4 separate regions of the Homo sapiens genome follow, and all the other regions are linked to region 2. Evidence: promoter capture Hi-C in human tissues and cell types (Jung and others, 2019). All regions are on one chromosome and are shown on one strand. The core of a region is centred on a gene start or on the middle of the fragment in contact, and the rest is flanking DNA. Distances in the headings are between cores, read along the strand shown. Region 1 overlaps ZNF430 (zinc finger protein 430). Region 2 holds the start of ZNF66 (zinc finger protein 66). Region 3 overlaps ZNF431 (zinc finger protein 431). Region 4 overlaps LOC105372317 (a long non-coding RNA gene).

Region 1 (6,735 bases), core at 1,634-4,133, 260 kb after region 2:
AAAAAAAAAAAAAATTATTGGATAATTTCAGTCATTCCTGCAAATCAGAACCAATTCTCTTTATTCTGTCATTTCACTTTAATTCAAATAATAAATTCTGCCCGTGGCCACTTGGTAAATATACGTGTGTCTTGTGTGCTTGTGTTTTTCAGGGGCCATTGACATTTAGGGATGTGGCCATAGAATTTTCTCTGGAGGAGTGGCAATGCCTGGACACTGCTCAGCAGGATTTGTATAGAAAAGTGATGTTAGAGAACTACAGAAACCTGGTCTTCTTGGGTGAGAATAACTTTAGTACACAATTACTAGTATACCCTAAAGGTTTCATTTCTCATTTTTTGAGAATAATTTTTGGTAATTTATGCTTTGCATAAATGAGTTTCTGATACTTGTTCTTAAGAAAACCTTGAGGATTTTTCCATATAGGAAAGAATTTTTTCAAGAAGTTTTATCTTGACTTAAACTTTCCACATTCCTGGGCTGATCTGTATCCTTCACTCTAGATTAGTGGCAATTCCAGAAATTTAGTGGCATAAAATATTGTTGCCCATATCTTAAAATCTATTTGCCGCCACCAATTTTTGATTAATGAATGCCAGGCAGTGAAATTAAGAACCTACAAATGTAAAATATTTTCTAAATACTTAGAAATTTCTGTTATAAATTAGTATTTTTAGGATTAATTTTCTAGAATATTCTACCACATCCTCTTTACTAAGCACAGTACTAGGTTGGTAACTGAAGAATATGAGAAAGATTCATGTTATTTATTTTCAATAAAGCAGGTATTGCTGTTTCTAAGCCAGACCTGATCACCTGTCTAGAGCAAGGAAAAGAGCCCTGGAATATGAAGAGACATGCGATGGTAGATCAACCCCCAGGTAGGTGAGAGTGAACACAACAGACGACATGAATGAGAGGTCCAAAAAAGAAGAAAGCCAATGCTTAAAATGTTATTTGAGAATCTGTGTTCCAAAGCAAATATTTTCTGGGAAGCCTGAGTTTTTTTTTTTAATTTTGCCCTCGCATAGGGTCATCTTCTGTCTTATGCTTTTAAATTCAAGGATTCTTTCCCCTTGGTGATCTCCCTTCAAGTTTGCTATCAGAACCAAAGTCCTCTTCATGGCATGCGAGACTCACAATCTGACTGCTTTTCCATTGTTTTGGGGGACACACAAATATCTACATGATTTTGAGAAACTCTATGTTAAACTATTTTCTTTTCTTTTTTCTTTCTTTTTTTTTTTTTTTGAGACTGAGTTTCATGCTCGTTGCCCAGGCTAAAGTGCAATGGCACGATCTAGGCTCACTGCAACCTCTGCCTCCTGGATTCAAGCAATTCTCCTGCCTCAGCCTCCTGAGTAGGTGGAATTACAGGCACCTGCCACCATGCCCAGTTAATTTTTTGTATTTTTAGTAGAGACAGGGTTTCACCATGTTGGGCAGGCTGGTCTCAAACTCCTGACCTCAAGTGATCCACCCGCCTTGGCCTCCCAAAGTACTAGGATTACAGGTGTGAGCCACTGCACCTGGCCAAACTATTTTCTTAGTTCTCTTTTTGCATCATGTCTGAAATGTGTAATAGTAGTGGTTTCTGTTCCACTGTTTTTTGTTGTTGTTGTTAACTTTTCTGCACACTCCATTCTGTTCTTATTACTATATTCTCGAAATATAGTTTGAAATTATAAAGCATCATGTCTTTCTACTTTGTTCTTTTTCCTCACGATTGCTTTGGCTATTTGAAGTTTATTGTTGTTTCTTGTAAATTTTAGAATTGTATTTTCCATTACTGTGAAGAAAAATGCCACTGAAATTTTGATAGGGAATTTATTGAATCTATAGATTACTTAGATAATAGGACACTTTAACAATATTTATTTTTTCAATCTGTAGACATGCAATATTTTTAAATTTGTGTCTTCTCTAATTTCTTTTATTAATAACATATCTTTCGTTGTAAAGATTTTTTACTTCCTTGTTCTCAGAAATTTATCATTTTAATGCTATTTTAAATTGTTTTCTTTCTCTGTTAAAGTGTATGGAACAATAACTTCATACTTGTGTGTTAATTTTATGTTTTGCTAATTTACTGAGTGTATTAATTCAGACAAATTTCAATGTAGTGTTCATGGTTTTTTATATATAAAATCATATGATCCACAAACAGCAACTTTTTACTTGTGTTCAATTTCAGTGGCTTTTTAAAAATGTTTTTGACTCATTATTCTGCCACATACTTCCAGTGCTATGTTAAAATAGAAGCATTGACAATGGGCACAATGTAGTTTTGCATTAGTGTCTGTGAATTTGAAGGAGCAAACAACTCCTCAAGCTTCTATAAACTGGTTTCAGTAGGTAAAGATCTTTTTCTGTCATGTCTCCAGGGTCATAGAATGCTCTCTGGGTTTGTAGTGGAGAGGGGGTGTAGCTTGGTCACAAGGCTGCTGGGTCTGCACTAGGGTCCACCTTTAGTTGGCTTGTTACAGGGGCTTGGGTAGTGGTAATTCCCATTTTATTTTTGGACAGACTGAATATCCTTCAACACTTTGATCTGTAGAGCAGACAATAGGGCAGGTTTCTGCAGTCAGGTTCATATATAATGGTCCTTATATCAGGATGTGAATGAGTATGGCGTTTATTGAGTACCGGAGAGGATTACTGTAGTTATGCAGACAAATTCTTTTTTAATGGTATATCAGTGTTGCACAGCAGATTTTATGAGTAAATATGTCACTTACTATTACTGCGCAGTTTCATATCAGTGTTTTGTTAGTGTAGGTTTCTTAACATTGAGTTATTGTGTTTTTTTGTTTCACTTTTGTATTATAATTTTAGACAGTTTGCAATTCGGTTTATCTCTTATAATTAAGAGATAAATCAGCCATATGTCTGTCACAATTAGATATATATGTGTGTGTGTGTTTATCTATAAATATGACCCCAATATTGGTTATGGCTTATCTTGTATATATTCTTTCTTAGCCAATTTTCAGTGGTTGTTTTATCTCACCTAAGTGAGTAGTCATGGAAATATTTTCACCATCTCTTATTTTCACCATGTGTTTAATGATGATGTTTCTCTCACCTTTGTGTGAGAGAAACACTTTTGTAATTTGAAGGTAATTTTTGAAAAGATTTATAAATCTGTATTTTTTTCAGTTTTTCCTTTAGAAAAATTAATTGTTGTAAAAACACATAATATTTACCATCTTAAATCTATTTAGGTGTACCTTTTAGGGCCAGACATGGTGGTGGCTCACATCTGTAATCCAGGATTATTTGAGCTCAAAAGTTTGAGACCAACCTGGGAAACATATGGAGAGTCCCTCTCTACAAAATGTTTTTTAAAAATAGCCAGGCATAGTGTTGTGCATCTGTGGTTCAGGCTACTTGCAAGACTGAGGTGGGAGGGTTACTTGAGCCTCAGAGTTTGAGGCCGAAGTGAGCCATAATTGTACCACTGCACTCCAGCTTTTTGACAGAGTGAGACTGTGTCTCCAAAAAAAAAAAAAAAAACCACAGCTCTACATTTCAGGCAGGCATGTTAATTATATTCACATTGTTATGCAAAAGACTTAGATATTTTACATTTTGTGAAACTAAAACTCAATACCCATTAAATAACAGCAACCCATTTTACCCTCTTTCCAGCCCTTGACAAACACCCTTCCACTTTCTGTTTTTATGAGTGTGACTAATTAAAATATCCCATATCAGTGGAATCATACTGTATCCATCATTTCGTTACTGGCTTATTTCAGGTGACATAATATTCTCAAAGTTTATCTTAAAATGTGACAAGATTTTCTTTTTTTTTTTTTTTTTTATTTTTGAGACGGAGTCTCCTGTCACCCAGGCTGGAGTGCAATGACGCAATCTCGGCTCACTGCAACCTCTGCCTCCCTGGTTCAAGCGATTCTCCTGCCTCAGCCTCCCGAGTAGCTGGGACTACAGGCATGTGCCACCATGCCCAGCTAATTTTTTTCTTATTTTTAGTAGAGAGAGGGTTTAACCATGTTGGTCAGGCTGGTCTCAAACTCCTGACCTCAGGTGATCTGCCATCCTCGGCCTCCCAAAGTGCTGGGATTACAGGTGTGAGTCACACGCTTGGCAAGATTTTGTTTTTTAAGACTGAATAATATTTCGCTCTACACATATGTTACATTTTTGATATGCTTATAAATCAAGAGACACCTGGGTTGCTGCAGCCTTTTAGCTTTTGTGAATACTAGTACAATAAACATGGATGTTCAAATATGTCTTCCAGGTCATGTGTTGCATATTTTAAATTGATAAAGAGGATTGCTGTATTTGATGATAATTCCATTTTTAATTACTTGAGAAACATTTATAACATTTAAAAATAATGACTGCATCTTTGTTTTCTACCAACAATTGACATAGGTTTTATTTTCATTGCATCATCAACAGATTTGGTGTTTTTAAATAATTTATAGTGGCCATTGTAATGGGTATGACATGATTTCATTTTTCATTGTTATTTTTATGTGTTTCTCTACAAATTATTAATTTTGCATGTCATTTCAAATGCTTTTTCCATTTGTGTATCTTTTATGATAAAAATTTAGTTCAATTGTTAATTTTCAAATCAAGTTATTTAACTTAGTTTTAAGGGTTTTTTATATATTCTGAATATTAACTGTGACATGTAATTTGGAAATATTCTTACCCATTTTCTCGGAGGCATTTTCACTGAGTTAAATGTTTTGTTTTAATGTGCAGAAATTTTGAAGTATAGCATAGTTAATTTTTTGTTGTTGTTCCTCAGGCATTTAGTGTCTTATCTAAGAAAATGGTGCCAAGACCAATGTCATGTCTTCTTTCTATTTTTTTCTAAGAGACTTATTAGTTTTTTTATGTCTAAGTATTTTACTTAAAATATTTTTGTATATGATTCAAAGAAATGATCCAACCTTATTTTATCAGTATTGATATTTAGTTTTTAACATTGTTTTTTAAAAGACTATTGTTTCCTCTTGGCAGCTTTGTAGATCATTTGATTATATATAAAAGGTTTCATTTCTGGGCTCCATATTTTGTTCTTTCATCTGTTCATCTGCCTTTGTGTCAATATTACACTGTTTTTGTTACTGTAGCTTCTAATTTTTTATTATTATTTTTGAGATGGAGTCTGGCTCTGTCGCCCAGGCTGGAGTGCAGTGGCTCGATCTCAGCTCACTGCAACCTCCTCCTCCTGGGTTTCAGCGATTATTCTGCCTCAGTCCCCCAAGTAGCTGAGGTTACAGGCGTGCACTACCACGCCTGGCTAATTTTTGTATTTTTAGTAGAGACGGGGGTTTCACAATGTTGACCAGGCTGGTCTCAAACTCCTGAGCTCAGGTGATCCCCCACCCTGGCCTCACAAAGTGCTGGCATTACAGGCGTGAGCCACTGCACCCTGCCTAATATGTTTAAAAATCAGGAAGTATAATGCCTGTTTATTCTTTTTCATGGGTGTTTGGCTATAGTTCATAATGAAATTTAAAAATTTTAAACAATATTTGTGTAATAAAACTGTGCTATTGTCATTTTTATAGAGGTTATATTGAATTTGTTCACCACTGTAGGTTGTATTGACAACTTAACTAAATTAAACTTTTTGAACCTTTAGCTGAAGAGTGTGTTTGATTGACTGATTGATTCGAGACAGAGTCTCTCTCTGTCATCCAGGCTGGAGTGCAATGGCATGGTCTCGGCTCACTTCAACCTCCGCCTCCCGGGTTCAAGGAATTCTCCTGCCTCAGCCTCCTGAGTAGCTGGGATTACAGGTGCCCACCACCATGCCTGGCTAACTTTTGTATTTTTAGTAGAGACGGGGCTTCACATGTTGGCCAGGCTGGTCTCAAACTCCTGACCTCAAGTGATTCGCCCACACCAGCCTCCTGAAGTGCTGGGATTACGGGCATGAGCCACCATGCTTGGCCTTATTTTTATTTTATTTATTTTTATTTTTAGAGACAGGGTCTTCCTATGTTGCCCATGCTAGTTTGGAACTCCTGGACTCAAGCAATTTTCTTGCCTTGGCCTCTGAAAGTGCTAGTATTATAGCCGTGAGCCACTACACTCGGCCCATGTGTTTTTTTTTTTCAAATATATTATTGGATTTAACAGTTTTACTTTTGCTATTTATTTATTTATTTATTTATTTATTTATTTTACTGAGACAGAGTCTCACTCTGTTGCCCAGGCTGGGGTGCAATGGTGTGATCTTGGCTCACTGCAAACTCCGCCTCACAGGTTCAAGCAATACTCCCGCCTCAGCCTCCCAAGTAGCTGGGATTACAGGCACCCACCATTATGCCCGGCTAATTTTTGTATTTTTGTAGAGACAGGTTTTCACTATGTTGGCCAGGTTGGTCTTGAACTCCTAACCCCAGGTGATCCACCCACCTTGGCCTCCCAAAGTGCTGGCATTACAGGTGTGAGCCACCGCACCCGGCCTACTTTTGCTTTTAATTTTTAGTTTCATTCAGTTTTGGTCAGAAAACACACAGTGTATGATTTTGGTTTTCTTATATTTATTTGTTGTTGTTTTGAAACAGGATCATACTCCGTCACCCAGGCTGGAGTATAGTGGCATAATTTTGGCTCACTGCAACCTCAGTCTCCTTGACTCAGGTGATCTTTTCTTCCTCCTAAGTAGCTGAGACTACAGACATGCACTACCGTGCCTCGCTAATTTTTTGATTTTTTTGTAGTGACAGAGTCTCACTA
Region 2 (6,660 bases), core at 3,107-5,606:
AAAGACACAGGTGCTGACCATTAGTAGATAGGTTATTCCCTGTAATAACAAAAACAGAGGGGAACATCATATTGTTTTTCATCTTTAGGAAATTGTACTATGCCTTCATTTTCTGCTTTCATAGCTACAAGGTCACCAGCCTTAGGGTTGGGATCTGATGGACGCTGTACCCATATTTTGGCTCCAGGATTTAAGCTTCCTGTACCAGGGGATCTGAATCCCCAAGTTCTGTATGTAGCCTCTGTTGGGCAAAGATTTCCTCAGGGGTTAATTGTGGACAAGGTACCACTAACAATTGAGCAACCAGCATCTGTGGTTTTATAGCAAAAGAATCTGGAGAGGTATTGTATAAAATGTCCTTTAACTCTCCCCGGTAATCACTATCAATTATTCCACCATACATTATTATGCTTCTCATTGCAAGGCTTGAACATGTTGTAATCCATTTACCCACATTCAAGATCACAGTTATGGTGGAAATTTTTGCCTGTTGATCTTCCTGCTGATTAAATAGTCTGTCAAGAGGAAGCAGAGACACACTAGCATCAACATGGAAAACAGGGCCAGGCACAGTGACTCACACCTGTAATCCCAGCATTTTGGGAGGCTGAGGTGGGCAGATCACAAGGTCAAGAGATTGGGACCATCCTGGCCAACATGGCAAAACCCCGTCTCTAAAATTACAAAAATAAACTGAGCATGGTGGCTCATACCTCTAATCCCAGCACTTTGGGAGGCCAAGGCCTGCTGATCAGGAGGTCAAGAGATGGAGACCATCCTGTTTAACATGGTGAAACCTCATCTCTACTAAAAATACAAAAATTAGCTGGGTATGGTGGTGTGTGCCTGTAGTCCCAGCTACTCGGGAGGCTGAGGCAGGAGAATTGCTTGAACCTGGGACATGAAGGTTGTGGTGAACCCAGATTGTGCCACTGCACTCCAGCCTAATGAAAGAGTGAGACTGCATCTAAAAAATGAATAAATAAAAAATAATACAAAATTAGCTGGGCGTGGCAGCCTGTGCCTGTAATCCAAGCTACTTGGGAGGCAGAGGCCAGAAGAATCACTTGAACCGTGGAGATGGAGGTGGCAGTGAGCTGAGATTGCACCACTGCACTTCAATTTGGTGACAGGGCTGGATTCCATCTCAAAAACAAAAAACAACAACAAAAAAACATGGAACACAGTGACGATGGGAGTATGCACCAGGATTCAGATACCTTACCAATATTGTTTTCCCCAAACCTCTTTATTCCGCATTAACCATTTGTTTCATTGCCACTTGGGCACCCAGGTAGTAAGACCATTTGCTACTGACAAAGAGTTGATATAAAAGTAACAAATCCCTCTGGCCTCCTCCTGAATAGCTCGGAGAAACGACTACTAGTTCAGCTAACTGGCTGCTCCCACCCCTTCCTTCATCAGAAATGCTTATGTTTTTAACAGGATTATAAGCCACAGCCCTCCAGCATTGGGTCCCACCAAAGTATTTGGTGGATCCATCAGTAAACCAAGCATGTTTCTGATCCTCTGGGCTTAGTTCTTTAAAGGATTTGCCCCATTTGATGTGTGTGTGTGGGGGGTGTTTCTTTCCCTATCTGCAGGACTTGCTTGGTTGTTTCCTGAGCTCGCAGGTTTTCCACATCCTCATGTAAAAGTGATAGCCCCTATGATTTTGGCTTAGCCTGGTTTTGTATGTCCCATTTCCATTTTATGATGCTACTTTCTGGGCATGCCCTATCTGGTGGGTTTTGGGGGAACTCATGACCAAAGTCATAATAGAAATTTCAGGCCTCATAAAGACATCGTGGTTGAAGCAGAGGTGTTCCATTTCCAGCAAAGCTCAATAGCAAGCTAACAATTGCTTCTCAAAAGAGGAATAAGCTTTTCCAGCCTCTGGCAGTTTCTGGGTCCAAAACATGAAAAGTACCCTCTTTCCATCTTGTTTCTGCCTAAGGCTCCAATTAGCATGTTGATCTACGACAGTTACTCGCAGTTCATCAGGCCCATCCCATATAGGCCATAGATCCAGGGCCAGTTGCACTGCTTGTTTAGCTTGTTCAAAAGCCATGCTGTCTTTCTCTCCACAGTGAGAGTCATACCTTTTTCTAGTGGCTGCATTCAGATGTTGTAAAATGTTACCCAAGTAAGGAATATGATGTGTTCAGAATCCAAACAAGTCAATACATTTCTGGGCCTCCTTCTTAGTGGTAGGGGTTGCAAATTATAGTATTTTAGCCTTAGCCTTTGGTGAAGTGGACTGTTTCTTTGCATTCCATAGGATGCCAAAGAATTTTACACTTTGTGCGGATCCTTAATTTTACTAGGCTTAATTTCCCATTTTTGAGATAGGAACTGGGTTTTTACATGCTCTAAGCCCCGGCTGACTAGTTCTTCAGTTTTACCCTGATTGGGCCACCTGGACAGCTGCTTTTTTCAGCAATAGGCTGATAGCTTTGAGCCTGATCAGTCAAGACATTGACTGGCATTGGGCCAGGGCCAGTCCGGAAGTCAGATTAGCATTTTCCTTTTCCAGCTTATATTTCTCTTGTAGCAACCAGCCCCTATCTTGACACATTAACTTATAAGCAGCAATCAAACACTATCCACTTTGTGAGATTCCCTCAGCATCTCCTTTGGTGACTGGAATCCCCTGCAGCACTTCACGCACAGTCAAAGGTTTAAATTGCACTAATTTAGATTCCCAATTCCCACAAAGGCCAGTTCCCCTGAACCATTCAATCACAAAGAAGGAGAACTGGGAGTGATCCCATCTCAGGATATGGGAAATCCTTGAGCCTCCAGCCCTATCCTTCTGGTCAAAAAGGGGCCCACTTTTGTTTTCAAATCCTGTTTGTGATGCCAAAAATGTTCTGTATGGGAAACGTGGGAGAGGAGAAGAAAAGACATACATACAATAACTTTAATGGTAAACAAGCTTTAACCCACATCAATATCAATGCAGACAGAATAAACTAATGATATAATAAGCAAATGATATAATAAGCAAATAAATATAATACACAGATTGATATAATAAGCAAATTGCAGTAAGAAGAGGAGATGGGAAAAGATATATATATATATTTACCCTCACTAGACTATGGAGGATTACCAACTGAGTAGGAAGAAACAGCCCAGGCTCCAGAGTCGGCCACCCATTCATGCACAGACAAGGAGTCTCATGAAGCTTCAGGGTGGTCTGGGACCCTAGCTCTTTTGTAACGAGTTGTTTGGCATAAGGCCCAGTGAGGAGGGCCATTTGGGACTTGCCTCACGGAACACAAAAGGGTCAAGTTGTTTTTGTGATTGTCTATTGTTTTTCAACAACTAATGTATAGTAATAGAATGAAATAGACATTTCTTTGATACAGCTCTGGATGAACACCTCAGGGGCTCACAACCAGGACCTGTTCTGGGACTTGGTGACCATTGTGTCCACGTTCAATTGAGTTCAAATTTAACATTTAACTTTTCCTCCATAAATTCTCCTGTCTTCATGAATTGGCTCTGTCTAGGCAAAGGGCAAAATGAACCCCTTGGGCTGTTACATAACCTCCACCTCCTGGGTTCAAGTGATTCTCCTGCCTCAGCCTCCGGAGTAGCTGGGACCACAGATGTGCACCACCATACCCAGCTAATTTTTTACATTGTGAGTAGAGATGGGGTTTCACCATGTTGGCCAGGCTAGTCTTGAACTCCTGACCTCAAGTGATCCACCCACCTTGGCCTCCCAAAGTGTTGGGATTACTGGCATGAGCTACCTGTGCCTGACCCTAAATTATTTCTATCTCTTATAGCAGTTTGAAATTACTTAAAGGTTGTTTCAAGTTGAAAAAATAAGAAGAATGTGGATAAAAATAAAATATAAATAGATAAAAAAATTACAGGGATTACAAAATATATATGTAAATCTGGAGTGGTCAAAAATGACAAATTTGATTTATTTATAAGGTTTTATTAAAATTAGCTTTAATCGTTAATACACTATTACCAAAGTAAAAGCTGATTTTCTCTTGAACAAAAATTTTATGTATTATTAATATGACAGCAAAATACTTCTGTTCACCTTTGAATACATTCAACAAGACAGAGAGTAAAAAAGAGATAAAATGTTCCCATGCTCTGGCATGGACCAGGCTCAGCTCTGGGAGGAAGCCCTGCCTGAAAAGGCTGCAGCTTAGGCTGTCACTCTTTTCTTCACTCCGCCCAGCAGCTGATCACATCTTCTGTCACTCAGTGTCTGAGGGGGCGGGACCTTAAGCATTAGCCAATCAGAGGCGCTGGGCTGGAAACCGTCCAATCAGGCACGCAGCTGGAATGAACAGGACGGCTTCCGGATTTGGCGGGGTCTTTGTCTCTCCCTGCAGCTGGAGCTCCAGGTCGTCTGTTCACTGCTCTCTGTCTTCTTCTCCTAGAGGCCCAGCCTCTGTGGCCCTGTGTCCTGCAGGTATTGGGAGATCCACAGCTAAGACGCCAGGACCCCCTGGAAGCCTAGAAATGGTGAGAGTGCCGGTCCAGCATCCCGAGAGAGGTGAAGTGTCTGTGGCGGGACTCAGGCCTCCCCTCAGTCAGCTCCACAATCTGCACCCCGAATTCTCCTTACCCAGCTCTGCCTCAGTCCCATTCAGCCATAAGATGGCGGCTACGCTGACAGCCTGGCCCCCGGGCGTCCTGTCGCTTCCCCGCGCAGTGACTGTGCCCCTGGCCTGGAGCGCTCTGTGGGCAGCTCTGCACCCGCAGTGCCGTGTCTCTCCCAGATTGTGCAGGGACCACCGGAGGGTCTTCAGGGGAGAATGCTGACTCGCGGTGCGGGTTCATGAATGGGAAGAGCTTTGGTCTGTGGGGTTCACAGTTTCTCTTTTCTGCTATTAAAATTGTATGGGGCCGGGCGCGGTCGTTCAAGCCTGTAATCCCCGCACGTTGGGAGGCCGAGGCGGGCGGATCACTTGAGGTCAGGAGTTGAAGACCAGACTGACCAAAATGGGGAAACCCCTTGTCTACTAAAAATACAAAAATTAGGTGGATATGTTGGCGAATGTCTGTAGTCCCAGCTTCTCGGGAGGCAGAAGTGAGAGAATCGCTTGAACCCGGGAGGCGGAGGTTGCAGTGAGCTGAAATCCTGCCACTGCACTCCAGCCTGGGCGACAGAGCAAGACTCTTGTCTAAAAAAAAAAAAAAAAAAAAAAAATTATGGGAGTCACTGCAAAAATATCAAACAATTTAATCAAAGAGTGATTCAAGAATTGTAGAGCACCCAGCTATAGTTTGTAGTTTGTGGTCCATGGGAGAGGCTTGAAGAAAAGACATTTATAAAATGCATGATGAGGAAAACCAAATTCAATAATTTGTTAGGTTTAGTAATGTAGTTTCTTAATTTGTACAATCAAGGTGGAAATTTCCTGGTTATGTAATTAGAGCTTAATTGGCAGTTTATAGTTGCTGAAGCCTGAATTTTGTTTCCCCTAATGTAGTAATTTGCCAAAAAATGCACTTGAGCTTAGATTTTTTTTTTTTTTTTTTTTTAGAAATAGAAATCCGGGGACTAGAGCCTCTTCAGTCTAATTGCCTGCCACTTAATTATTTTCACATCCCACAGGGGACTGACTTTCCCTGGCATTTTTCACATGTGTCCCAAGCAGGGCCTCAAGTGTCCCCCATGTTCCTCAATTAATTATTATTATTATTATTATTTTTTGAGACGGAGTCTTGCTCTGTCGCCAGGCTAGAGTGCAGTGTCAGATCTTGGCTCACTGCAACCTCCACCTCATGGGTTCAAGCGATTCTCCTGCTTCAGCCTCTCCAGTAGTTGGGACTACAGGCAAGCGCCACCACTCCCAGCTAGTTTTCATATTTTTAGTAGAGATGAGGTTTCACCATGTTTGCCAGGAATGCTAGTTACCAAGGAAAAATATAGGGAAAATCTCTCTTCCATTTTGGCTGTAGACAATGAATATATTTCCACAGGAAAATGTGGTAGATAATTGAGGAGTTACATGGATTCATCAACACATTAGTTCCTCTTTTTGCAGGGTAAATTTTTTCTATATCCTTTTATTTTGATTTCTGAGTTAAATGCTAAATTTTAAGTGATGAAACATGGTACCTTCTAGAAGTGTTCCCATATGACTAATTTTTTACTACATTATTTTATTTATTTACTTATTTTTTTGAAACAGAGTCTCACTCCGTCACCAGGTTGGAGTGCAGTGGCGTGATCTCGGCTCACGCAACCTCTGCCTCCCAGGTTCAAGCAGTTCTCCTGCCTCAGCCTCCCAAGTAGCTGGGATTACAGGTGTGTGTCACCACGTCCAGCCAATTTTTTTGTGTTTTTAGTAGAGACAGGGTTTCACCATGTTGGCCAAAATGTTCTCAATCTTCTGACCTCGTGATCTACCCACCTTGGCCTTCCAAAGTGTTGGGATTAGAGGCGTGAGCCACAGTGCCCGGCCTACTGCATTATTTTTAAGATAAATAATAAAATAATACATACATTGTCTGAAAGAAGTAGATATATATGCTTTTCTTATAGGGGTATAAAATGCAAGCATCTTAGCCAGGTGCAGTGGCTCATGCCTGTAGTTTCAGCACTTTGGGAGGCCTAGACAGGTTGATTACTTGAGGTCAGGAATTTGAGACCAGCCTGCCCAACATGGTGAA
Region 3 (6,185 bases), core at 891-3,390, 410 kb after region 2:
AGCAAAATATTTCCATGTGATAAATATGTGAAAGTCTTTCATAAATTTTTAAATGCAAATAGACATAAGACAAGACATACTGGAAAGAAACCTTTCAAATGTAAAAAATGTGGCAAATCATTTTGCATGCTTTTACACCTAAGTCAACATAAAAGAATTCATATTAGAGAGAATTCTTACCAATGTGAAGAATGTGGCAAAGCTTTTAAATGGTTCTCAACCCTTACTAGACACAAGAGAATTCATACTGGAGAGAAACCCTTCAAATGTGAAGAATGTGGCAAAGCTTTTAAGCAGTCCTCAACCCTTACTACACATAAGATAATTCATACTGGGGAGAAACCATATAGATGTGAAGAATGTGGCAAAGCCTTCAACCGGTCCTCACACCTTACTACACATAAGATAATTCATACTGGAGAGAAGCCCTACAAATGTGAAGAATGTGGCAAAGCTTTTAACCAGTCTTCAACCCTTAGTACACATAAGTTCATTCATGCTGGAGAGAAACCCTACAAATGTGAGGAATGTGACAAAGCTTTTAATCGATTCTCATACCTTACTAAACATAAGATAATTCATACTGGAGAAAAATCTTACAAATGTGAAGAATGTGGCAAAGGCTTTAATTGGTCCTCAACCCTTACTAAACATAAAAGAATTCATACTGGAGAGAAACCCTACAAATGTGAAGTGTGTGGCAAAGCCTTTAATGAGTCCTCAAACCTTACTACACATAAGATGATTCATACTGGAGAGAAACCCTACAAATGTGAAGAATGTGGCAAAGCTTTTAACCGGTCCCCACAACTTACTGCACATAAGATAATTCATACTGGAGAGAAACCTTACAAATGTGAAGAATGTGGCAAAGCTTTTAGCCAGTCATCAATCCTTACTACACATAAGAGAATTCACACTGGAGAGAAACCCTACAAATGTGAAGAATGTGGCAAAGCTTTTAACCGATCCTCAAATCTTACTAAACATAAGATAATTCATACAGGAGAGAAATCTTACAAATGTGAAGAATGTGGTAAAGCCTTTAACCAATCCTCAACTCTTACTAAACATAGGAAAATTCATACTAGACAGAAACCCTACAACTGTGAAGAATGTGACAATACATTTAACCAGTCCTCAAACCTTATTAAACAAAATAATTCATACTGGAGAGAAACTCTACAAATGTCAAGAATGTGGGAAAGCCTTTAAGCAGTCCTCAACTCTTACTAAGCATTAAATATTGGCCGGGTGCGGTGGCTTATGCAAAATGGCTCCCAGCATTTTGGGAGGCTGAGGTGGGTGGATCACAAGGTCAAGAGATCGAGACCATCCTGGCCAACATGGTGAAACCCTGTCTCTACTAAAAATACAAAAATTATCTGGGTGTGGTGGCACGTGCCTGTATTCCCATCTACTCGGGAGGCTTAGGCAGGATAATCACTTGAACCTGGGAGGTGGAAGTTGCAGTGAGCCAAGATTGTACCACTGCACTCCAGTTTGGCAACAGAGTGAGACTCCGTCTCAAAAAAAATTTATACTGTACAAAAACCCCACAAGTGTGAAAAACATGGCAAAGCCTTTAAGAAGCCCTCAATTCTTAACAGACATAAGATAATTTATACTGGAGAGAAACTCTACAAATCAGAAAGATGTGACTACTTTTGACAACGCCTCAAACTTTTCTAACCATAAAAGTAATTATACTGGTGAGAAATCCTAGAAATCTGAAGAGTGAGATAAAGCCTTTAAATGGTTGTCACACTTCATTGTAGGTAAGATAATTCATACTGGAGAAAACGCCTACATGTGTGAACAATATGGCAAAACTTAATGCTCACACTTTATTGCTAGGAAAGCATTTATACTTGAGATAAATTATACAAATATAAAGACTGTGAAAAAGCCATCATTATCTGCTCACATTTTACTCAACACAGAGAGTTCCTGCTTAATAAAAGCATTATAAGTGCAATTACTGTCAAAAGATCTTTCAGAAAATATAAGCTTTTTTAGTGAAGAGTATTTATTTTGAAGTTGAACATCACAAATATAAAAAGGGTTGTAGTGCCTTTACTTGTATCACAGATCTTTTTGTAGACATTTTCTTCTAGAGGAAAACTCTGAAGCAGTTGATCAAACTTTGTTCAACATCAGGGAATTTATATTGAAAAATTGTGCAAATATAATAAATTTGGAAAAACAATTTTTCAAAAACTACAGCTTAGAAATCAACAGTTATACTAGAATATATTTTTTCCAGATGCAGTAAAAGTAAAATATTTAATCCATAATTAAGTCTATGCAAATATCAGAGAATTTATGGTAGAAATATATAAGGTACTGACACTTCAGATATACTAAATCAGAGTGCTAAGTATAGAAAATCTGAAACTAAAGTTGGTAGAAAAGTTATTTGTATAGAACTTTAAGAGGATCAGAAGGTTTTTTGCAGAGTTATAATTACATTCAAAGTATACTTTATTTCTTGAAAAATATTACAGATTTTTTGAAAATTGAATAATGTCATCATTCAACTCTGAAATTATTTCCTGTTGTTTCTTCATTCCTATTGGATTCACATGTGAAAGCATGGGGTTAATTGTTGCTACATCAAAGAGAGAGATTCTTTTGTTTGTTTGTTCGTTTGTTTTTTGAGACTGAGTTTCACTCTTTCGCCCAGGCTGGAGTGCATTGGCATGATCTCAGCTCACTACAACCTCTGCCTTCTGGTTTCAAGCAACTCTTCTGCCTCAGCATCCCAAGTAGCTGGGATAACAGGTGCCAGCCACCATGCCCAGCTAATTTGTGTATTTCTAGTAGAGATGGGGTTTCACCATATTGGCCAAGCTGGTCTTGAACTCCTGACCTCATGTGATCCGCCCGCCTCAGCCTCCCAAAGTGCTGGGATTACAGGCTTGAGCCACCACGCCCAGCCTGTAGCATATTTTAATAGGAGAATACAATATATAATAGTAGCAGGGTTAAGTAAGGCATCCATCATCTGTAGCATTTCTCCTTTGTTTTACAAACAATCCAATTCTACACTTTAAAAAAAAATTTTTAAATGTACAATTAAATTTTTATTTACCACAGTGTTATTTTTATCGTCATAATAAAAATTATATACGAGTATAAATGAAATTCATTTCTAAATTCTTAATAAATATTTTCTCATGCCAGGTGTGGTGGCTCACGTCTGTAATCCCAGCACTTTGACAGGCTGAGCGAGGGAGTGGATCTTGAGGTCAGCAGTTCGAGACCAGCATGGCCAATATGGAGAAATCCCGTCTCTACTAAAAATACAAAAATTAGCCAGGCGTGGTGGCATGTGCCTGTAATCCCAGCTACTCAGGAGGCTGAGGCAGGAGAATCGCTTGAACCTGGGAGGTGGAGGTTGCAATGAGCCAAGATCACCCCACTGCACTCCAGCCTGGGCAACAGAGCGAGACTCCATCTCAAAAAGTAAAATATATTTTCAAATTTTCTATATATTTTTCTTTGAACATGTGGCCTGTCTGCCTGCAAACATATACAGACTTTTAGTTTTGATTCATATAGAGTTAAATACATGTTAGTCTAAAGACAAATCTTAGGTGTAAGAAAATTATGGAGTTAAGTATGTGTGTGTGAGTATGAGTTTGTACATATTTTCAGAAGGAAAGAATGATACGGGAACAAAAATCATTTTAATATGGTGACTACTATAAAACTAAAAACCTAAAAAATGCTGAAAGCAAATGTATACTTTTTGGTTTGTATTGAATTTATTACTGTACAGTCTATGACTTAGAGTTCTGAATCTTCCCAAGCAAATTCTCTGTATATACTTGCCTGGTACTCATGCTAGACCCATACTTTTTTTGTTTCTTACATTTTTTTTGTTTTATATTTTATGAAGTATTCATTATGTGAGCTGGTCTGCGATTATAAGAATTTTTATGAAATTTAGTGCACACAAAATAATCTTTAGATGTAATTCCAAAAGTAGTGTATTAAGTTACATTTTATTTAGTTAGAGCACTCCATTTTGTTCTTTTAAGAGGAGAACAATATATAGGTTTTCTTTAGTGATTTGTTCCTTTCACTTTTTATAATTGACATAAGCATATTTATTGAGTCAATTTGTTCAGCTAAGTACTAGGGAGGCTTCATTAGTCATGAGGATGTTTTTATATATAAATGTAGCAAACATATATTACAGTTTTCACTGTGTAATAGATTATCCATAATAATTCATAAATATTCCTGCTGAAGTTAGTTTGTAACTTCAAGTCAAAGATGAAAAATATCAATGGTGAAGATTGATTGTTCATATAGAGAGGACATTTTTTTTCCAGACTGTAAAACTGAATCTTGTTGAATTTAAAGAGAAATTCTGGCAGAGGCAGATGAATCACCTGAGGTCAGGAGTTTGAGACCAGCCTGATGAATATGGTGAAACCCAGTCTCTACTAAAACTACAAAAATAGCCAGGCATGGTGGTGGGTGCCTGTAATCCCACTCGGGAGGCTGAGTCAGGAGAATTGCTTGAACCCGGAGGTGAAGATTGGAGTAAGCCAAGATTGTGCCGTTGCACTACAGCCTGGGCGACAGAGCGAGACTCCATATAAAAAAAAAAAAAAAAAAAAAAGAGCTGGGCGTGGTGGCTCACGCCTGTAATCCCAGCACTTTGGGAGGCCAAGGTGGGCGAATCACTTGAGGTCGGGAGTTTGAGACCAGGTGACCAACATGGAGAAACTCCATCTCTACTAAAAAATACAAAATTAGCCCGGTGTGGTGGCGCATGCCTGTAATCCCAGCTACTCGGGAGACTGAGGCAGGAGAATCGCTTGAACACGACAGGTGGAGGTTGCAGTGTGGCGAGATTGCACCATTGCACTCCAGTCTGGGCGACAAGAGGGAAACTCCATCTGAAAAAAAAGAGAAATTCTTTTATTTTCTACTTCTCTTCAGATTTGTCTTATGCATTTTCCAACTATGTATGCATCACAGCTATTCTTTTTCTGAGTTATAGCTACAGTTTTCTTACTGTTGTCTTCATGCCATTTCATTTCACATGGTACTTTGTAGATTTTGATGAGGAAGTTGGTATTTTTAGTGCACACAAAAATTGGTTTTAACTGTAGAGTTTGCTTATCAGAACAGTTAAAAGGCAGCCAGGTGTGGCTCACGCCTGTAATCCCAGCACTGAGATAGGCCAAGGAGGGTGGATCACTTGAGGTCAGGAGTTTGAGACCAGCCTGACCAACATGGTGAAACCCTGTGTCTACTAAAAATACAAATTTAGCCACGCGTGGTGACGCACGCCTGTAATCCCAGCTACTCGGAAGGCCGAGGGAGCAGAATCGCTTGAACCTGGGAGGTAGAGGTTGCGGTGAGCCGAGACTGGGCCACTGCACTTCAGCCTGGGCAACAAGAGCGAAATTCTGTCTAAAAAAAAAAAAAAAAGATAAAAGGTGCAATACTGTCCACAGGTAAGATAATTAAATTAGTCAGCTTTGTTTTTAAAAGAAAAATCTTACTAGATTCTTATACAAAGTGTGGCAAATATAAAACTTGCTTGAAAATACAGAAATTAAATTTTTAAGAGAGTTAATGGTAAGTAAACAATTTTAAAGTTAATTTTCTATGATATACTTACAGCACAACTTATATTTCCATGCAGAATCTTTTATTTTTAAGTGTGAGTGTTAAAGGTTACAAAATAATGAAATGACTTCAGTGGATTTAAAATTTTGAAAAATAATGTCTTTTCTATATTGATTTTACAATTTGGAGAAATTTTTCACTCATTTTTTATATATTTTTTAGTGGGAGAGGTTTAGTCTACAGTTTTTATTTTTAGTCACCAAACTGTAGCCAACTCTTGGGTCATTTTCTCTGAAAAACATTTGGAGATCATGACAGCGTTTGGATTAAAACATTTCTGTTACTTTGCATGCAAACTAGTTTACTGTGTTCACAGAGTGGCCAGTCATGGGACCATAAGCAACACCTGCTCTTTGAGTGTCTTTCATACCGTTACCATCAGCACCAGAAACTCCAGGTGCCCCAAGCTTAAAGTAAAAATCCTAAAGTACGTTGGCTCCTCCCATGCAATGTGCTGGGTCCAAACCATGCTGTTAAATATCAGAAGTTTCTATGGTTATGATTAAAAAATTAAATGACAATAATAGCCC
Region 4 (6,763 bases), core at 2,393-4,892, 340 kb before region 2:
GGCCCTGGATCTGTGGCCCATATGGGATGGGCCAGTAGAACTGCAAGTAACTGTCCCAGATCAACCTGCTAATTTGAGCCTTAGGCAGAAACCTTTCGGGTTTGGGACCCAGAAACTGCCAGAGGCTGGCAAAGCTTATACCCCTTTGTAGAAGAAATTGTTAGCTTGTGATTGGGCTTTGCTGAAAAGAGAACACCACTGCTTCAACCTTGATGTCTTTATGAGGCCTGAAATTCCTATCATGGCTTGGTGTCATGAATTCCCCAAAACCCACCAGATAGGACATGCCCAAGGAAGTAGCATCATAAAATGGAAATGGTACATACAAGACCAGGCTAAGCCAAAACCAAAGGGGTTATCACTTTTACATGAGGATGTACGAAACTTGTCCGCTCAAAAAACCACCAAACTATCCTGCAGATAGGAAAGAAACCCCCCCCACAATCCACCCAAAGGGGCCAATCTTTTAAATAACTAAGCCCAAATGATCAGAAACATGCTTAATTTATGGATGGATCCACAAAATACATTGGTGGGACCCAATGCTGGAAGGCTGTGGCTTCTGTTAATCCTGTTAAAACATAAGCATTACTGGCCAGATGCAGTGGCTCATGCCTGTAATCCCAGCACTTTGGTAGGCTGAGTTGGGCAGATCACGAAGTCAGGGGTTCGAGGCCAGCCTGGTCAACATGGTGAAACCCCATTTCTACTAAAAATTACAGAAATTAGCCAGGGTGGTGGTGTGCACCTGTAATCCCAGCTACTCGGGGGAGTGAGGCAGGAAAATCACTGGAATCCCAGGAATCAGAGGTTGCAATGAACCAAAATCACACCACTGTACTCCAGCCTGTGCAACAGACTGAGACTCAATCTCAAAAAGAAAAAAAAAATAACAAACAAACAAAAACATAAGCATTCCTGATGAAGGAAGTGGTGGGAGCAGCCAGTTAGCTGAACTAGTATCCATATTCTAAGCTCTTCAGGAAGAGGCCAGAGAGATCTGTCACTTGTATACCGACTCTTGGTCAGTAGCAAATGGTCTTACTACCTCTATGCTCCAATGACAACAAAACAAATGGCTAATTGGGAATAAAGGGGCTTGGGGAAAACAATACTGGAAAGATATCTCAATCCTGGCACAGACTACCATTATCACTGTTTTCCTTTTTTTTTTTTTTTTTTCTTTAACGCAGAGTCTAGCTCTGTCACCAGGCTGGAGGGCAGTGGCACAATCTAGGCTCACTGTCACCTCCGCCTCCCAGTTCAAGCCATTCTCCTGCCTCAGCCTCCCAAGTAGCTGGGATTACAGGCACACGTTGCCACCCCCAGCTAATTTTTGTAGTTTTAGTAGAGACAGGTTTTCACCATGTTGGCCAGGATGATCTTGACCTCCTGACATCGTGATCTGCCCACCTCAGCCTCCCAAAGTGCTGGGATTACAGGCATGAGCCATCGTTCCTGGCCCTTTTTCCATGTTGATGCTCATGGGTCTCTGCTTTCTTTTGACAGACCATTTAATTAGCAGGAAGATCAACAGGCCAAAATTTCCACCATAACTGTAAACTTGAATGTGCATGAATGGAATACAATGTGTTCAAGCCTTGCAATGAGAGGCATTATAATGTATGGTGCTATAATTGGTAGTGATTACCGGGGAGAGTTAAAGGACATTTTATACAATACCACTCCAGATTTTTTTGCTATAAGACCGCAGATGCCTGTTGCTCAATTATTAGTGGTACCTTGTCAACAATTATCCCGTGAGGAAATCTCTGCCCCAACAGAGGCTACATACAGAATTGGGGGATTCAGATCCACTCCTACAGGTAGCTTAAATCCTGGAGCCAATATATGGATACAGGGTTCAACAGATCCTGCCCCTAAGGCTGGTGACCTTGTAGCTATGAAAGCAGAAAATGAAGGCATAGTACAATTTCCTAAAGATGAAAAACAATATGTTCCCCTCTGTTTTTGTTATTACAAGGAATAACCTATCTACTAATGGTCAGCACCTGTGTCTTTGTGTCTAAAGCCAAGAATAAATTCATTTACTAGGTAGCCACTGCTGCAACAAAAGCCAATCACAGAGAATGTTGGCTGTACATCGAGTTGCCAGAGGCTGCCAGGAATGGGCTACCTTGAAGAATCGTCCCTGACAATATTTCTGAATGGCTATGTCGTTATCAATGGGGCCACAACAACAACACTTGTAATCCAACCTGGACTTCCTTTCACCACACTAAGCAATCTGTCTTTGCCCAGGTCAGACAAAAGGTGAACTCCACCCTCACCTTCCATCAAAAGCCTTGGTATTTTGCCCAATATTCCTGGAACGGTATATATTGGAAACCTGCTGTGCTGGTGGCTGGATTCCACACAGCCCCTGCTTCATCTGGAGGCCTTAAATGGCTCCTCTAATGTTACTCTGGGGTTTCTCCAGACAATTGTCAACACATACTCCAAATCAACAACATTGCCCCCAATGAACCACAATCTCTTTCCTATTTTAATAACACATTAGTACAGTATGTTTACAGTAGGTCCATGGCTGTCCCCTGGGGGGCCCTCTGGGTATGCAGATCCTGTGGGTGTTGGTACCTGCCCCCACACTGGGCAGGGAGATCACTTGTGGGTGGCCATTAATTCCATTCACCATCCGGGATAATATCCCCCTCCCAAGTAATCTGGATGCTTACAAACACCACTGGTTATGAATGTGCCGGCCTCCTTGGTGGCGATACCTTATCACAGTATTCTCCCCTGCCGCTAGAACAATCCTGCTTCACCAACAAATTAAAATATTAAGCTTATATGTAGAAAAAGCTCTTAATGATAGTAGCACTGGACTTATGCTGTTATCAGATGAATTTGCTCAGCTGCGTACTGTTGTGTTGCAAAATCAAATGGCATTAGATATGCTTACCGCAGCCCAAGGAGGGGTTTGCGCCTTACTGCATACTGGATGTTGTGTGTATATCCCTGGCAATTCTCACAATATTAGTCTCCTTGCAAAGCCATGAGTATGTTTTTTTTTTTAAATTGTGCTTTTAATTCTCCTATGCTTACCCTGTATCCATAATCTATGTCAACTATGAGTTCCCCATGTATCTATAACGGTATTTTAATACAATTGAGTACCGAATTGAGGCCGAATGTTGACGAAAAGTTAAGTATTAAATTTGAACTCAATTGAACGTGGACACAAATAAAGGTCACCAAGTCTTGGCACAGGTTGTGTGAGCCCCTTTGAGGCGTTCATTCAGCACTGTTTCAGAGAAGTCTCTATTTCAATCTATTCCTATATGTTAGTTATTGTAAAACAATAGCCAATCACAATAACAAGTTGACCTTTTTGTGTTTCTTGAGCCCAGTCACAAAGGGCCCTCGTGACTGGGCTTCATGCCAAACAACTTGTTACAAGAAGAGCTAGGGTCCCAGACCACACTAAAGCTTCAAGAAACCTCTCCTAGTCTGTGCAAGGACTGTTGGCTGACTCTGGAGCCCAGACTGTTGCTTCCTGGTCTGGTGATAAATCCTCCATAGTCTGGTGAGTGTAAATATATATATATATACACACATATATATATATATTCCCTTCTCCCCTTCCCATTGCAATTTTCTTATTATATAAATTTACTTACTATATCTGCATTGCCATTTACGTGGGATAAATCTTGTTTATCTTTAAAGGTATTTTGTGTGTATGTCTTTTCTTCTCCACTCACTCATTTCCTGCAAAGAACACCATATTTCTCAGAGCCTTTGTTGGTTCCTTTTTATTATTTTTTCTTTAATCGTGTCTGCATGCCTTATTTTAGCAAAGTGGTCTTCAAACTCTGATATCCTTCTTCTGCTTGGTCAGTTTGGCTATTGATACTTTTGTATGCTTCATGAAGTTCTCGTGCTGTGTTTTTCAGCTCCATCAGGTCATTTATATTCCTCTCCAAACTGGTTATTTTAGTTAGCAGTTCCTCTAACCTTTTATCAAGGTTCTTAGCTTCATTGAATTGGGTTAGAACATGTTTCTTTAGCTCAGCAGAGTTTGTTGTTAACCGTCATCTGAAACCTACTTCTGTCAATTCATGCATCTCATTCTCTGTTCAGTTCTGTACCCTTGCTCAAGAGACATTTTGATCATTTGGAAAAGAGGCACTCTGGCCTTTCAGCCATTTTTTGTTGATTCTTTCTCATCTTGAGTTTGTCTAGTTTCAATCATTTGAGGGTGCTGACCCTTGGATGGTTTTTTTTTTTTTTTGGACACAGTCTCTGTCACCCATGCTGGACTGCAGTGGCACCATATCAGTTCACTGCAAATTCTGCCTCCAAGGTTCAAGTGATTCTCATGTCTCAGACTACTGAGTAGCTGGGAATACAGGCATGCACAAGGATGCCTGGCTAATTTTTGTATTTTTTAGTAGAGAGGAGGTTTTACCATGTTGGCCAAAGTATTGGGATTACAGGTGTAAGCCACTATGTGCAGCCTTGGATGAGGTTTTTGTGGGTACTTTTTTTTCTTGTTGATGCTGTTGTTGTTGCTTTCTGTTTGTTTTTCTTTCAATGGTCAGGTCCATCTTCTGTAGGGTTGCTGCAGTTTGCTAGGGTTCACTTCAAGCCCTATCCATCTGGTTCACTCCCGTGCCTAGAGATGTTACTCAAGGAGGTTGGAGAACAGCAAAGAAGAATGTCTGTTCCTTCCTCTGTCATCTCTGACCTCAAGAGACACAAATCTGATACCAGTAGAATTGCTCCTGTATAGGGTGTCTGACAATTCCTATTGAAGGTGGAATGGGGAGCAGATGGGGAGCAGAACCCATTTAATGAAGCACTTTGACTGTCCTTTGGTGGAGGGAGGTGTTTTGCTGTGGGAAAATCCACTCATCTGGGCTGCTTAAATCCCTCAAAACTAGCAGGAGGAAAGGCTAAGTCTGCTGGTCCACAGAGACTGCAGCCACCCCTCCTGCTAGGGTTCTGCTCTGATCCTTGTTATTTCTTTTTTTCTGCTGGGTTTGGGTTTGGCTTGTTCTTGTTGCTCTAGTTCTTTGAGGTGTTATCTTAGATTGTCTACTTATGCTCTTTCAGACTTTTTAGTAGGCACTTGATGCTATGAACTTCCCTTTTAACACCACTATTGCTGTATCCCAGATGTTTTGTTAGATTGTGTCATTATTATTGTTCAGCTCAAAGATTTTTAAAATTTCCATCTTGATTTCATACAACAATCATTCAAAAACAGGTTGATTGTAAATTTTATGTTTTATTTAATTTCCATGTATTTATTTAATTTCCATGTATTTGCATGGTTTGAGGGTTCATTTGGAGTTGATTTTCACTTTTATCCCACTGTAGTCTGAGAGAGTAGTTGATATAATTTTGATTGTTTTAAATTTATTGAGACTTGTTTTGTGGCCCATCATATGTCTGTCTTAGAGAATGTTTCATGTGCTGATGAATAAAATGTATATTCTACAGTTGTTGGTTAGAATATTCTGTAAATATTTGTCAAGACTGTTTGTTCTAGATTATAGTTTAAGTCCTTTTTTTGTTGTTGTTGTCATTGACTTTGTCTTGATGACTTGTCTAGTGCTGTCAGTAGAGTATTGAAGTTCCTCATCATTATTGTGTTGCCATTTATCCCATTTCTTAGGTCTAGTAGTAATTTTTTAATAAATTGGGAGCTCCAGTGTTAGGGGCATATATATTTAGAATTGTGATATTTTCTTGTTGGACTAGTCCTTTTATCATTATGTAATGTCCCACTTTGTCTTTTTCTTTTTTTAAGTGTTTTTGCTTTAAAGTCTTTTTGTCTGATGTAAGAATGGCTACTGTTGCTTGCATTTGGGGTACATTTGCATGGACTATCTTTTCCCAACCCTTTACCTTAACTTCATGTGTGTCTTTGTGTGTTGGGTGAGTCTCTGGAAGACAGCAGATTTTTGGTTATTAAATTCTTATCCATTCTGCTATTCTGTATCTTTTAAGTGGAGCATTAAGGCCACTAATCACTATCAATTATATCACCATACATTATAATGTCTGTCATTGCAAGGCTTGGAACACATAGTAATCCATTCATCCACATTCAAGTTTGCAGTTATAATAAAAATTTTGGCCTGTTGATCTTCCTGGTGATTAAATAGTCTGTCAAAAGAAAGCAGAGACACATAAACATCAACATGGAAAACAGTGATAATGGTAGTGTGCAAGAGGATTCAGATATCTTCCCAGTATTGTTTACCCCAAACCTCTTTATTCCCAATTAACCATTTGTTTCATTACCATTGGAGCATCCAGGTAGTAAGACCATTTACTACTGACCAAGTGTTGGCATACAAGTGACAAATGTTTCTGACTTCCTCCTGAATAGCTCAAAAGACAGCTAACTGGGAGCTAACTGGCTGCTCCCACCCCTTTCTTCATCAGAAATGCTTATGTTTTTAACAGGATTATAGGTCATGGCCTTCCACCATCAGGTCCCACCAATGTATTTGGTGGATGCATCAGTAAACCAAGCATGCCTGTGATCCTCTGGACTTAGTTCTTTAAAGGAGTTGCCCCATTGTACAAGGGAGGTTTCCTTGCCTATCTGCATGACTTTGTTGGTGGTTTACTGAGCTGTCAAGTTTTTTACACCCTCATGTAAAAGTGATAACCCCTTTGGTTTTGGCTTAGACTGATCTTGTATGTACCATTTCCATTTTATGATGCTACTTTCTTGGGCGTGCCCTATCTGATGAGATTGTGTGGAACTCATGACCCAAGTCAT

The links. Contacts are between HindIII fragments. The study calls those that stand out against the background at their distance.
Region 1: a contact is called between a fragment that was not itself captured here and the fragment with the promoter of ZNF66 in region 2, in 1 of the 25 tissues and cell types used here (pancreas).
Region 3: a contact is called between a fragment that was not itself captured here and the fragment with the promoter of ZNF66 in region 2, in 1 of the 25 tissues and cell types used here (aorta).
Region 4: a contact is called between a fragment that was not itself captured here and the fragment with the promoter of ZNF66 in region 2, in 1 of the 25 tissues and cell types used here (bladder).

What each region holds. Positions count from the first base shown.
Region 1 is chr19:21,033,304-21,040,038 of GRCh38, forward strand. It overlaps ZNF430 (zinc finger protein 430), which reads left to right. Exons shown (of 5, transcript NM_025189.4): 3 at 153-279; 4 at 783-881. Among named protein-coding and RNA genes, the nearest start is that of ZNF430, 16 kb to the left of the region's middle. The HindIII fragment of the contact is 7,227 bases long and covers 1-6,497 here.
Region 2 is chr19:20,771,948-20,778,607 of GRCh38, forward strand. It overlaps ZNF66 (zinc finger protein 66), which reads left to right and starts at 4,357. Exons shown (of 4, transcript NM_001355197.2): 1 at 4,357-4,503. The coding sequence starts at 4,501. The HindIII fragment of the contact is 10,177 bases long and covers 2,412-6,660 here.
Region 3 is chr19:21,182,820-21,189,004 of GRCh38, forward strand. It overlaps ZNF431 (zinc finger protein 431), which reads left to right. Exons shown (of 5, transcript NM_133473.4): 5 at 1-6,185. The coding sequence ends at 1,215. It also overlaps the pseudogene VN1R82P. Among named protein-coding and RNA genes, the nearest start is that of ZNF431, 44 kb to the left of the region's middle. The HindIII fragment of the contact is 3,792 bases long and covers 245-4,036 here.
Region 4 is chr19:20,434,064-20,440,826 of GRCh38, forward strand. All of the region lies in intron 1 of LOC105372317 (a long non-coding RNA gene), which reads left to right. Among named protein-coding and RNA genes, the nearest start is that of MIR1270, 38 kb to the left of the region's middle. The HindIII fragment of the contact is 4,344 bases long and covers 1,471-5,814 here.